Regions from separate parts of the Homo sapiens genome. Here region 1 is linked to region 2. Evidence: promoter capture Hi-C in 16 types of primary human blood cells and fetal thymus (Javierre and others, 2016). All regions are on one chromosome and are shown on one strand. Each heading gives the region's core, a stretch centred on a gene start or on the middle of the fragment in contact. The rest is flanking DNA. Distances are from core to core; before and after follow the strand shown. Region 1 overlaps IBTK (inhibitor of Bruton tyrosine kinase). Region 2 holds the start of ME1 (malic enzyme 1).

Region 1 (3,008 bases), core at 504-3,003, 1.2 Mb after region 2:
TTCTGGTTTATGATTATTTTCCTAGTGTAATTGTTAGTATCCCCTTTCATTCTCAAAAATGTTTGCATGATAAATAATATGACCACTATATTTAGGGCTCCATAGAACACTATTTTTTAAACTAAAAGTCACAACCTAATGCATCACAACCAGCAATTGAACAAAAAAAGCAATAGAATCCTTAAACTCTAGAGAATATTAAATTTTGAGAGAACAGGAATAAAAACCCATATAGGAATGAAAAGTGGCTAGAGAAGTAGGGAGTAGAATGGTGTCATGAAAGCTAATATTCTTGTGGGTCTTCTCTGTAGATGTGGAGGGAACTTAGGATAATGAAAGGACTTGTGATGGGCGAGAATCAAGCTTGGTGTCCAAGTCTTTAGTGAATGTGAGAGGGGTGAGCAAGATGGTGAGAAATCAGAGCAGGGGCAGCAAGTGTACAAGCTGCTCACCTAGTCTAGAGCTTTTTGCAGACATGCTAGTCAGTTTTTTTTTTCTCATGCTGAGCTTGAGTGGGTCCTCAGACTCCTCCTTAAAATGATAATCCAACCATTAGCAGCCACTAATGATTGATTGGAATTGTGGCACAAGAAAGACACCTGTTTTTCCTTTTTTGAGGTAGTACATGATATACCTTTATTTCATGAGCTGTTACGGAGCAGGGATTTTAAAGACAAGAGTGAGGGAATCATGATGGCATTAGGAAATCAGAGGGTGATTGAAATGTCTGATCCAAAGAAATATATAGTTTGGAATATTTGAGCATATTCCATTTGCCAGGGTTGTGAGTGAACTAGTGTACTCAAAGAGAAAGCCACATTTCAGGTAAGGCAAGGCAGTGGGCGTGTTTTGTGAAGGTATTAAGGATCTAAGGGATTTTATTTACCACAGAATGAGGGTGAAGCAAGCACAGTGGGTAGGTTTGAAGGAAAGAAATCAGTATAAATTTCAGTCAGGGAAGAGAAAGCAAGTATGGGAATATTAATTGAGTACCAGTTATATAGAGAGCCCCATTTGTTATTGAAAAGGGGCTGATTCTATATTATACAGTACCAAATTAATTAACTACCATGAGACAGAGATTATTAATGTTAGTATTATATATTCCAGATAATTAAAAGCGAAAATCCATGCTCAGTTCTTATTTAAAAATTCAGGGGTTTTAGGCTGGGCGCAGTGGCTCATACCTGTAATCCCAGCACTTTGGGAGGCTGAGGCGGGCAGATCACGAGGTCAGGAGATCGAGACCATCCTGGCTAACACAGTGAAACCCCATCTCTACCAAAAATATAAAAAATTAGCCAGGCGTGGTGGCGGGCACCTGTAGTCCCAGCTACTCGGGAGGCTGAGGCAGGAGAATAGCGTGAACCCGGGAGGCAGAGCTTGCAGTGAACCGAGATGGCGCCACTGCACTCCAGCCTGGGTGACAGAGCGAGACTCCGTCTCAAAAAAAAAAAAAAAGTCTGGGGTTTTTAAAGTTGGATAACTTAAAACTGTCTAGTATTGCAACTGTTGTTTAGTAGTAGAAGTCAGCAGTTGTAGGATGGCATTCTAATATTTAATATAAAATTGAATGAAATGTATTCTTTCTTATTTCATAAAATGAATTTCACTGACAACTTGTAAATTTAAAATACAAATTTGGATTTTATTTTTAAACTTTTTAGGTATTTGTGGTACAGCTAAATGAGATAATAATCTTTGCATTACTTTTTTTATTTGATAGCTATATTGTGCTTACAAAATTCCGAGCGGTCTAGGGTATGTGTAAATATTTAGAGCTTGTCTAGCTTATAATTTTTTTGTTTTCCAAAGGACCTTGACTTTCTGGAAATGATTTTAGGGTTTCTTTATTTCTTACTCATCTTTTTATATCCTAAGTTAGAAATATTTGCAGATGTTGTAAGAAATATAAATGCAAACAATCTTTAAAAATGAGAAGATTTTAAAAATATTATTAAGGTAAAGTGAGTATAATGAATATCAGAGCTTGGAAAATAGCAAAATGTGGCCCAGGGTTAGATATGTAAATATATATATATTTGAAACTGCTGATGGTTTCCTGTTATTGTGTTCTGCTGAGGCAGTTCAACTGTTTCAGTATCTTTGTCTTCTGTAGTATGTGAATAGTAAGTCTGTGTATCAGGGGCAAGGGAGTGTACTGAGATTGAGGCAGATAAGGAAAAAGGAAGTGGGAAAGGAGAGAAAAACTTGAAAATAAATATAAAATTATTTATTAAAATAATTATAAATGTATATTAAAGACATGTTGATAAAACCAAAGATAAAGAAAAGGACATACTGCCCCCTACGCCATGTATAAATGGCTTTATTGTTTTTTGAAAACACTCTGAAGATGTTTCTATTATTTTTATTAGTACCATATATCACTATTTGGTAATCTTTATGCTTCCTGTTGCACTTTGCTCATTTCTTACTGTTTGATATTTCATGAAACTGGAAAACAACTGGCTACTAATTTTTGGAATTGAAGGTTTAAAATTATATTTTCCTTTGGGTAATCTCTTCTGTGGGTAACACATGCTTAATTCTTTCTTTGTTCTTTTTTTTCGTGTCAATGTTTTTAGACATAATTTTAAAACAAAGCATATGTATCTTTTATTTTTATTACAGGAAACTTAAAATGTGGAAATTAAAGTCTTATAAATTCCCCTTGTATCCATTATCCTGTTTAAACAATTAACAATATTCTATTTCTTTTTCATAAAATAAAGGATATTTTATTCAGAGAAGTTTAATAATATTCTCTTGTTTTCCCTTAGGTGGTGCTTTGTAAATTTCACTCCGTGTTTCTGTCTCAGAAAGGGCAGGTTTATACCTGTGGTCATGGTCCTGGAGGGCGATTAGGACATGGAGATGAACAGACATGCTTGGTAATTGAAATGTCATTACACTATTTAGGTAACTTTAGAAAAATGCTGATAAGCTGAAAGATTTAATTAACTAAATTTTTTTTTCAACTGTAAGGACGAAATAATACATCAATT
Region 2 (3,247 bases), core at 224-2,723:
CAAGGATTTTTTTCAAAAAGAACTTTGTGATGCCTAGAAAATATTCTCTATAAAAACAACGAATTCTAGATAATTCAGGCGAGGTCAAAGAAGCTTCTAAATGTAAATACGGACAAAATACAATTACTGTAAGAAATCTTTCTGATAAGGCAAAGTTAACATAACTAGAAATGAAAACACTGTGATTGGATGTGTGTCTAGTATATGGAGATATAAAATCAGCAAATAATCTCAAACACTATCCTTTGTAATATCAGTATGCAGAGACAAATGGGACAGAAACTAGCAATCCTATTTAACTGAAAAGGAAACTGGGGCACAGAAGGCTTTAGTGTCTGTTGCTATTAATTTATTTTTATCAGACAGGCACTCCTTTTGGCTATGATCTGACTATTCCTCCAGTCCATGAACCTCCAAGCATAAATATCAATAAAACAATAAAAAAATGGCCCGGCGCGGTGGCTCACACCTATAATCCCAGCACTTTGGAAGGCGGAGGCGGGCGGATCACCTGAGGTTGGGAGGAAGGCCTGAAAGACTGCTTACTCATCATTATTCAGAGAGAGCAGTGGTTCTTGAACATCAGGTTTCTAGAACTCCCAGAGAAATAATATACAAGATAAACAGGACTGTTCATTGGGCCTTTGCACCCTAACACCTTGACTCTTATCTTATTGACATTCAAATACAATTCCGGTGGAAAATCTGTAGAAACTGACAGGTGTGGCGCCTGAGCTCTCCTCTCTGGGCTTCCTCCCAGTTCCCTTGGGCCTCGGCATTCTGGGTCAAGGTTGGTTCCCTCCGGCCTCAGGGCCCCGGGCATGGCCGGCATCCTGGATGGCACGGCGAAGGTTGTGGATCTGTAGAAAGAGGGCTTCCAAGACGCTAACAAGACAGGAGAGACGAGTCTGATTCTCCTCAGCCTGTCGAGGTGTTCTGTCAACAGTTCTGGGGACCCCTCACGAGTCCTTCCGTCCTGTAATCCCCCTAGGTGTCTGAGCGACCGCCGGCTCTGCCTGAACCGCTCAGGTTCGCACCTTCTGGCATCTTCTCGCACTTTCTCCAGCCTTCCCGGGCAGGGGGATCCTGGCCTGACGCTCCCCGCTCCCTGCCCCCGCCCTGGGTCTCTGGGGTCAGCAGAGCCACCCAGTGCACTGCGTTTAGGCATGCCCACATGGAGAGAGGCGACCACAGCGGTGATCATAAGCCCATGGTGGGCAGAGGCCCTATGGAGCCAAGGGCTCCGGCCGCCACCCCCGCTCCGCCACCAGCAGCGCTGCCAGGACTCGCTCTTCCTCCTCCTCCTCACACGCCGGCTCGGATGATCTCCTGCCATGACTCAGCGCTTCTCGCAGGCTGCCCTGCTGGGGACACCGGCTTCGCTCGGGCCCCTCCCGACGCGTCCACCCCCTCTCGCCACCCACGCCCGCCCCCAGCCGCTGGGCCTTTCCCAGTGCGGCCGCCGCCGCCACAGCTGCAGTCAGCACCGTCACCCCAGCAGCATCCGCCGCCTGCACCGCGCGTGCGGCCCGCCCCGGCCTGACCCCGCCGCCGAACCCGGCGCCAGCCATGGAGCCCGAAGCCCCCCGTCGCCGCCACACCCATCAGCGCGGCTACCTGCTGACACGGAACCCTCACCTCAACAAGGTAAACCCGCAGGCCCACCTGGCCGCCCATCGGCCCCTCTCTATCAGGGTCAGGGCCCTCTTGCAGGTCCCCGCACCATGGCCTCGCCCCTCCGCCGCTCCCCTGGGAAGGTTCCCGGTGAGCGGCCGCGGCCTGGGGGGCCTTGGTGTGGGCAGAAGGAAGAAGGACGCCTAATCGGGTCCGTATCCACTAGAGTGATGGCAGGGCAGTGCTGGTGCCTCTGCACCTCGGCATCCCATGTTAGGGATAGAGGTAAAGGTAAAGGTTAGTGATAGAGGAAAAGGTGATACTTTTCGGCAGCTCTTCTCCAAAAACAAGAGCCCAGACAATGAAAGTAGTATCAGACAAAGTGTGTGAATGGAGTGCCAGGTCAGACTCCATGTGCCACTCACTTACTGGTTGCACACACAGTGTGGCAATTATTGGAAGTTGATAAGGCGAGAAGTGGCTCAACTGGTCCTGCCCAGACAGAAACGTGTACTGAGTGCCTTCAGATCACGTTAGCAATCTGGAAATCCAAGTCCTCTCGGTTTCTGGAGTGACACGGTTAAGAGTCTGGGAATGCGTGGTGGGTGGCCTCTGTCTTGGACACTTTGCATGGCTTGGTAGAAGAACTCTGTCCCAGACATGGGACTGTGGGTAAAGCCATTTCTTTTCTTTCTTTCTTTTGTTTTGTTTTGTTTTGTTTTGTTTTTAATTTGGCTTTCTGGAAGTTAAAAAAAAATTTTGTTTAGAGCTGCTCTCTTTTTATTAAAGGGGAATTCAGTGTACACCCTGTTCAGAGACTCCTTTTCGGATCCTGGTAACATTTCATTTTCCTTCACTGGTGATGCAATATAAGCACTCGGGATGTCTCTCAAATAAAAAATACCTCCGAATTTATCATTTTGCTTCCACACTTATTTTACAGCCAGGTTTGTCTCGGGATTGTTCCTTTTGTGTGTGTGTGTGCGTGCGCTTTGGACATTTCCTATTTATTCAGGAGTCTGAAAATGCCATCAGTCAGCACAGAGGTTTGTTTAGTTATTTTGGTTGTCTCTTTGGTGGACTGCATTTCACATTAAGAACAGAAGCTCAGCTTTTTCCTTGTCGTGTTCCTGATGATTTGTTGATCATATTAATGACTTAAAGACATGATTTATTTAACAAGTTATAGTCAGTGTGAGTGATTTTTTTTGTGTGTGTGGTGACAGGCACCTTTTACAAATCTATGACTGTGTGCTATCTGCCGTCATGTAGCATTATTAAATTGTAAATAATTCCAACTTATTTCTTTCTTTAAAATAAATTTAATTGCTAGTTTGATTGTTTTTTCTTTTCTTTTATTATTCTGCAGGTTTGCCACCTATTTTCAGTAGAACAAAAGTAAAATTTGATGTGACAAAACTATTTGTGACTTGTATGTGTCACCTGCCTACTGTAATTTATGACCAAGTTGTGGGTTGACACTTAAGAAGGACCACATGAGTTGTATAACCTGTTTGATTTTCCTCAAGTTGGGGGCAAGAGTGTCTATTAAGAGTATGTAGATGGCATGAGCAATCCCTGAGCAAGAGTAATTATTGCCTTTACTATGCTTACATCAAGAATTTATTATTAT

The links. The method cuts DNA at HindIII sites, captures the fragments that hold promoters and counts their contacts. A CHiCAGO score of 5 or more calls a contact.
Region 1: a contact is called between a fragment that was not itself captured here and the fragment with the promoter of ME1 in region 2, in 1 of 17 cell types (M0 macrophages). The highest score is 5.0, in M0 macrophages.

Annotation. Positions count from the first base shown.
Region 1 is chr6:82,227,078-82,230,085 of GRCh38, reverse strand. It overlaps IBTK (inhibitor of Bruton tyrosine kinase), which reads left to right. Exons shown (of 29, transcript NM_015525.4): 5 at 2,784-2,894. Among named protein-coding and RNA genes, the nearest start is that of IBTK, 19 kb to the left of the region's middle. RefSeq lists a silencer at 2,017-2,217. The HindIII fragment of the contact is 2,775 bases long and covers 366-3,008 here.
Region 2 is chr6:83,429,277-83,432,523 of GRCh38, reverse strand. ME1 (malic enzyme 1) reads left to right here and starts at 1,473. Exons shown (of 14, transcript NM_002395.6): 1 at 1,473-1,647. The coding sequence starts at 1,570. RefSeq lists enhancers at 58-1,257, 1,200-1,369, 1,990-2,259 and a silencer at 1,580-1,769. The HindIII fragment of the contact is 4,994 bases long and covers 96-3,247 here.